Linked DNA regions of Homo sapiens: region 2 is linked to region 1. Evidence: promoter capture Hi-C in 16 types of primary human blood cells and fetal thymus (Javierre and others, 2016). All regions are on one chromosome and are shown on one strand. Each heading gives the region's core, a stretch centred on a gene start or on the middle of the fragment in contact. The rest is flanking DNA. Distances are from core to core; before and after follow the strand shown. Region 1 holds the start of MITF (melanocyte inducing transcription factor). Region 2 overlaps MITF (melanocyte inducing transcription factor).

Region 1 (3,279 bases), core at 463-2,962:
ATGCTCACACACAAAACAGCCATTATGAGGAAAAACCACCAACTAAAGGCTGGTTTTATACGTCCAACTGCTTAGGCGGTTTCCTTCCAATCTGCCGTGAAGCATCTACAAAGAGTCTTCAGCAATGGCAGTCAGTAGGACCGCTGTTCCCAGATTTTCTTCCCCAACTTGGATAAAGAGTCCTGCCACAGCCCTGAAGGAAATAAACCTGGCTGCACTTTCCACTAGAAAAAGAACCAGCCCAGTGCTCGCCAGAGGCCAAGATTACACCACTTGGCTCCCCGTTCAGTTGCCCTTCTCCACTCACCCTCATTTCAAGACCCTCTCCCACTCTGCCAGCCAGGCCCATTCACCCAGGCCCCATCCACAGCGAAGGGCAAGGCAGGAAGTTACAGCCGAGTGCAGAAGCCCTGCTGGATGCTTCCAATGATAGCCTTATCCTAGCTCACAGCTTAGAGGGGTGGAAATAAACCCTTCTCAGCTATTCCAGCCTCCATTGACCATGTCCCTTTTAGGAAACATTGTAAACGAGAAGTACGAGGCGTCCAGAGTGGCTGCCGGACAGAGAGAACGGAAGACACCCAATCCATTTCGACAGACAAGTGGGAATGGAGGCAGCAAAAAGGGTGGCTCAAGGGAAGTGGGCACTAGAGGGGATGGGGCATCAGAGCAGTGGATGTCTTCACTCCTCGTCTAAAAAGTTTCTGAAGTCCCCAGCGAATTAAACACGTGTCTCTGCCAAGCGGGGTACACTCCCAGTAACCCCCAAGACCAAGGCTCATTTCCCCTCTGCAGGTAAGGCCTGGATTTGAATGGGACTCTATTTCCAGAGAGTTTAACTTGAACAAGGGGACACGCCCACCGCTGCCCTGGCCCCTCCCGCGCCCGCTAGCAGCGGTCTGGAGGTGAGAGGCGGAGCCCAGAGAAACCTCACCTGCAGGAGCCCAGAGGCTAGTTTCCCCACAGAGACCGGACTCCCAAGAGGTGACTCCAAGCGAACTAATTGCTTCCCTCCAATGTCGCATCTCAGTCCACCCAAAGCTCTCCCTCTCCGAGCCCTCAACCCGCTGGGATCTTCAGAAAGGGGGTTCACTAGAACTCTTTCTCCCCCATCCCACCGGGACAGCGTCCCGGCCCGGCGCTCCTCCTCCCCCACATCGCGCCAGGTCGCTCCCCAGCCCCCAATCAGTCTCAGCAGCTGGCATCCTCGGCCGAGGGTCCCCGCGCCTGGACGCTTCGTCCCCGGCGACCCGCCGCGCCCCCGCGAAGTGCGCTCCATCCGAGCTTCCTAAAGGCGCACTTGGGCCGGGCAGGCGCGGCCCCCAACTGCGAGGGGCAGTTCGCCCTCTGCTCCGGGGCAAGGGCACTGGGTCCTTGTCCCAGAGCTCCCGCGACCCGCTCTCCTCGCCCCAGAGTGGCAGACGCAGTGCCCCCCAGCCGCCCGGTGCGCCTCTGCCCAGCTGTCACCACTCACCTGCTCTTCAGCGGTTGACTTTTGAGTTCGTAATAGGTTTTGGGCTCTTCATGAAACTCCTCCCCGACTTCGAAATCCGGCACGATCCCCGATTCGGACTGCATGGCTCCCGCTTCCCGTCCTTCCACTGCTGGAAAGTGAGAACAGAGCCCGGGGGCGGAGGGAAGGTAGCTGGGCCTGGGTCCCCCGAGCCGTGCGCCCCGGCGCAGTGCCGAGCTCTGCCCGCTCGCCGGCTCGCGGCCGCCCGCCCCAGCGCGGGGAGTTTACACTCGCACCCGGGCGGGAGGGGCTGGCGGCCGAGCGCCGCCTGGGATCTGTAGTTCGGCCCGGGCGGGGCATTCCCAGCTCGCCTGGGGAGCCGCTCCCACGAAAACTACAGCTCCCAGAAGGCCAGGCGGGGGAGAGGCAACGTGGTGGACACCGCTAGTGCAACTCCTGTTTGGATTCATTGTCAATGTCAGCAGCTCCTCTCCCTCCTCTCTCCCCACTTGCTTCAAGGGTACAGACTTGGCTACTTAATATGAATAAGAATGGACACTGACTGCTCTTCTACCATCGCCCCGACCTCTCAGCTCAGACATCTGCGAGGGCACGCCAAGTGCTTATTTTAAAAATAAAATAGTCAAGGGTTTTGGCACAAGAAAGTTTTAGCATTCGAGCCTGTCTTAAAATAAAAGGACTTCCTATCAGCTCGCATGCTTCCCTGGGCTGCTGCGACATATCAGCTTGTCCTCGGATTGGAACAACGAGGAAGAACTTTCCTTCGCTCTGTAATGAAAACGTTATTGGAGAAATTGTTCTTGTGCGTTCCTTTTCTAGAACTAAGTCTGGACTTTTACAATAGTATTCATCAGTTGAATGGCTCTTTCCCCTTTATCCAAGTAGCCACTTCTAATCTACAGCAGCAATTGAAAGATTCGGTTAATTTTAAAAGGCACAAAGTTACAAAATAGCGTCGTTGCTCTCTGCTTTTAATTTCTCAGTTGACTGGGAGTTCAAATGAGATTTGTCCTAGCATTTCAGGAGTGAAGATGTACAAGTGAACTGTACAAGTGTCCACCCCTTCCCGAGCTTCCCGGAACTCACTTAGGGAAGAGAATTTTAAAACTCTCCGTTGTGGCTCATTTGTACTTCTAGTTCTTCCCTCTGATTAGCTCCAGTAGGACGTGTTCCTTCTTTTCAAAAGTGTTTTGAGGCATCAGGGAGGCAGTATAGAGTTACAGTGGCATTTAAAGGTATAAGACTCAGAGTTGAAATCCCCAGTCCTTCTAAGAAGAGCTGTGCAATCCTGAGCATGTCACTTGGTTCCTAGAAGCCTCCATTTCTTCATCCATAAAAGAAGAGATTGGCAAACCAGTTTTAGAAGATGTTGCAAGGTCAAATGTAAGAGAAAGTGATTTGCAATCTATAAAAACTCTGCTCAGTGGTCATTCTTTATTAGGTCTTGAAGTTATTCCTTTCAGATTAACATCTCATTTTGGTGTTTGGCCTTTCAGAATTAATAAACTAAATGACTGTCCTAGGAGAAAATTCTAAAGAGGCTACAGTGACAACTGGGCACCTCCCAGGAGTTACCCCTTTGCATATCTTGCCTCCCACTGAAACATTTTAATTTCACATCAGAAAAGACATCCAGTAGGATGGATCGATGTTAGGGCTGGAGTTCTCAAGGTGATTTGGAAAAAGTGCAGAAGGCACACTATGTTGCAGTAGCAATTACCAAATTTTCAGAATAAAAATTAGTCCCCAACATACGACTTTTAGGCCCTCCCCTGAAACTATTAAACTATGTCAGAATACCTGAG
Region 2 (3,129 bases), core at 624-3,123, 82 kb before region 1:
GTGCAGATCACAAAAGTTTTAGAGAATGTCAGATCTGAGGAAAGATTCTGATACTAAAATAAATAAAATAACTATAATCCATAATACATATTTACCAAAAAAGGGGGAAAAAGCATAAAAGACTGTTGTCTTCATATGTTGAAGCCCTAATCTTAATATGATGATATTCGGTGGTGGGGCCTTTGGGAGGTAATTGAGTTTAGATGAGGTCATGAGAATGGGGCCCCCAGGATGGCATTAGTGCCCTTATTAGAAGAGACACCAGAGAGCTTCTTTGGCTCTCTGGGGATACAGTGAGAAAGCAGCCATCTGCCAGACAGAAAGAGACCTTCTTATCAGGAATCAAATCTGCCAGCACCTTGATCTGAACTTCCTAGCCTTCAGAACCGTGAAAAATAAATATGTTGTGTAAGCTACCAGTCTATGGTATTTCATGATAGCAGCCTGAGCTGCTAAGACAAAGAGTAAGGATCAAAATCCAACTATATGCTGCATACAAGCAACAAGCCTTAAGTCTAAAGACACAGAAAAGCTAATTTAAAAAAAGGATGAGGCCGAGTGCAGCGGTTCATGTCCATAATCCCAGCACTTTGGGAGGCAGAGGTGGGCAGATCACCTGAGGTCAGGAGTTCGAGACCAGCCTGGCCAACATGGCAAAACCCCATCTTTACTAAAAATACCAAAATTAGCCAGGCGTGGTGGCATGCACCTGTAATCCCAGCTACTCAGAAGGCTGAAGCAGGAAAATTGCTTGCAGTGAGCCGAGATTGCACCACTGTACTCACCCTGGGTGACAGAGTGAGACTCTTTCAAGAAAAAAAAAAAAACAAACACCAAATAAATAAACCTTGGAAACACCAAACTAAAGTACTCAATAAGACGGGGTTGAGTAATGAATTTCAGCTGGGGCAAAAAGACTTTAGGAAAAAAATAAAATTAAAAATGAGGAAATGACTTGGGGAAAGCAAGCAAGTATTTGGTGTTTGTATGTGGGTGGGTGAATTCAAAATGTGGGAAATAACTTAGTCACCATTCCATAGTGCAGTTCAAGGGGGGAAGCACAGAAATTGCTGTTATTATCTATCTCATACTCAGCTGGTTTATTTTCCTGGTAATTAAGTTTTTCATTTCTTGTTTCTGTTCGGGTTGGTTAGGTTTGGTCTTTTTCTCTCGACAGGAATGCAAGCTCTGTCACTTTTGAAATATGCCCTTTAGTCTGTGTTTTGGTGTGACTTTTTACACTTCATTTCCCCAGTGCCTATGACAGTGCCAGGAATGGAATAAATACTCCAGAAATATTCAATGGGTGAATTAACAAAATCCAAGAAAGAAACTTTTTATCTGATTACATATCTAATAGCAAGGGTGACACAGCAAGCACATTCTAAACCAGGGGCCAGCAAGCTTTGTAGGTAAAGGGCCAGATAGCAAATATTGCAGGGTTGGTGGGCCAGGTATGATGTCTACCACATGTTCTTTCTCTGTTTGTTTTTTCAACATTAAACGGCTGGGGGGAAAAACATTCAATGTGAAAATCATTCTTAATTGTAGGGGCATCCATGAAGATGCTGACAGGCCAGGTGTGGTTTATAGTTTGTAGACCTTTGTTGTAAAATATCATCTATAAACTCAGAAGATAAGAGCAAAATATTTCTGAGAGAGAGAGACTATCAAGAAAATCCAGTTTGGGCTGGGCATGGTGGCTCATGCCTGTAATCCCACCACTTTGAGAGGCCAAGGCGGGTGGAACACTTGAGCCCAGGCGTTCTAGACCAGCCTGGCCAACATGGCGAAACCCCATCTCTACTAAAAATACAGAAATTAGCCAGGCATAGTGGCATGTGCCTGTAATCCCAGCTACTCGGGAGGCTGAGGCACAAGAACCCCTGAGACAGAGGTTGCAGTGAGCCGAGATCACGTCGCTGCACTCCAGTCTGGGCAACAGAGTAAGTGAGACTCAGTCTCAAAAAGCATAATAAAATAAAATTTTAAAATTAAAAAGAAAATCCCGTTTGAACTTTTGCTTTTTTTTTTTTTTTTAGTTTTTTTTTTTCCTTTTCTAAATGAAGACTTTAGGATCCTAATATTAGCCTTGATGGTTATCTACTTATGAGTTTTTTTTAAATCTAGGTCTAATTTGATCCTATTGAAGGAAAAAATTAATTCAAGGACCTGGAACAATAAAATGCAAAGTGAGCAAGTTGCAATGCTGCAACAGAGAAGCCAACTTGAATCGAAGTGTACGGTTTCTGCCATCTCTCATTGTTTTCCATACATCCTACCAATTAGATTTTAAGTTTCAGCAACCTCATTAGTTTTTCAGGCTTTATGACTCAAGCTTAGGGGGTTGGGGGTGGAGGGCAGCAACCCACAAAACAAAGACTTCAATGTCTCTAAAAGCTGAGAAAATTCCAGCATTGTCAGGGCAGATACTATTTATAACCCATTTAATGTGTATGCTCCCAAATGCATTTTCTACGCACAGCATCTGACCTACACTTCTGAATTCCTGGCTTTAGCAATGGAAGTGAAGCAGCTAAAAGTCTGACGATCAAAGGGAAAGAAATGAACTCCTTGCTATTATTATTTTATAACATCCAGCATCATGTGACAAACAGAATCAAAGGGTTCCTGTTTTTGACTCACCTTTGTCAAGAAAGTGCCTCATTGCTATAAGTTTGGGGCTCAAATTGCTGGAAAATGTGGGTTTGGAAAATATCCTACAACGAGGCTGAAATTTTTTTAAAAAGTTGTGGAAAATCTCATTTAACTTTTTTCCAGAACACACACACAGACACATACACACACACACACACACGAGTAAATGCTGAGACATTTTATTGAATGTGTATATATGTGGCCTATAATAACACACATTCTATTTCTATGTTGACACTTGTATTGCACCAGAGCAGGGATCTACAGGAAGATATCTTTTCACGATGTTGCCCAAAGTGCAGAGTGTTGGGCAGGCCAGCATCGCAGCAAAACTTCTATAATGATTGATTACAACAGACTGCAAGGCCTGCACATCACCTCCATTCCATTCATGGATCCCAACCAAATTAATTTTCTCCTGTGCCAATTCTATCACATCCCCTAGGTTTACAAAGAAGTTTTACCAGGCCA

The links. Contacts are between HindIII fragments. The CHiCAGO score rates a contact against its expected background, and 5 or more counts as called.
Region 2: a fragment that was not itself captured here is called in contact with the fragment with the promoter of MITF in region 1 in 1 of 17 cell types (M2 macrophages); the score reaches 5.1 in M2 macrophages.

The regions. Positions count from the first base shown.
Region 1 is chr3:69,737,897-69,741,175 of GRCh38, reverse strand. MITF (melanocyte inducing transcription factor) reads right to left here and starts at 1,712. Exons shown (of 10, transcript NM_001354604.2): 1 at 1,475-1,712. The coding sequence starts at 1,578. RefSeq lists a silencer at 1,477-1,776 and a promoter at 1,576-3,279. The HindIII fragment of the contact is 10,451 bases long and covers 1-3,279 here.
Region 2 is chr3:69,820,602-69,823,730 of GRCh38, reverse strand. The region is part of intron 1 of MITF (melanocyte inducing transcription factor); the gene reads right to left. Among named protein-coding and RNA genes, the nearest start is that of MITF, 83 kb to the right of the region's middle. The HindIII fragment of the contact is 934 bases long and covers 1,407-2,340 here.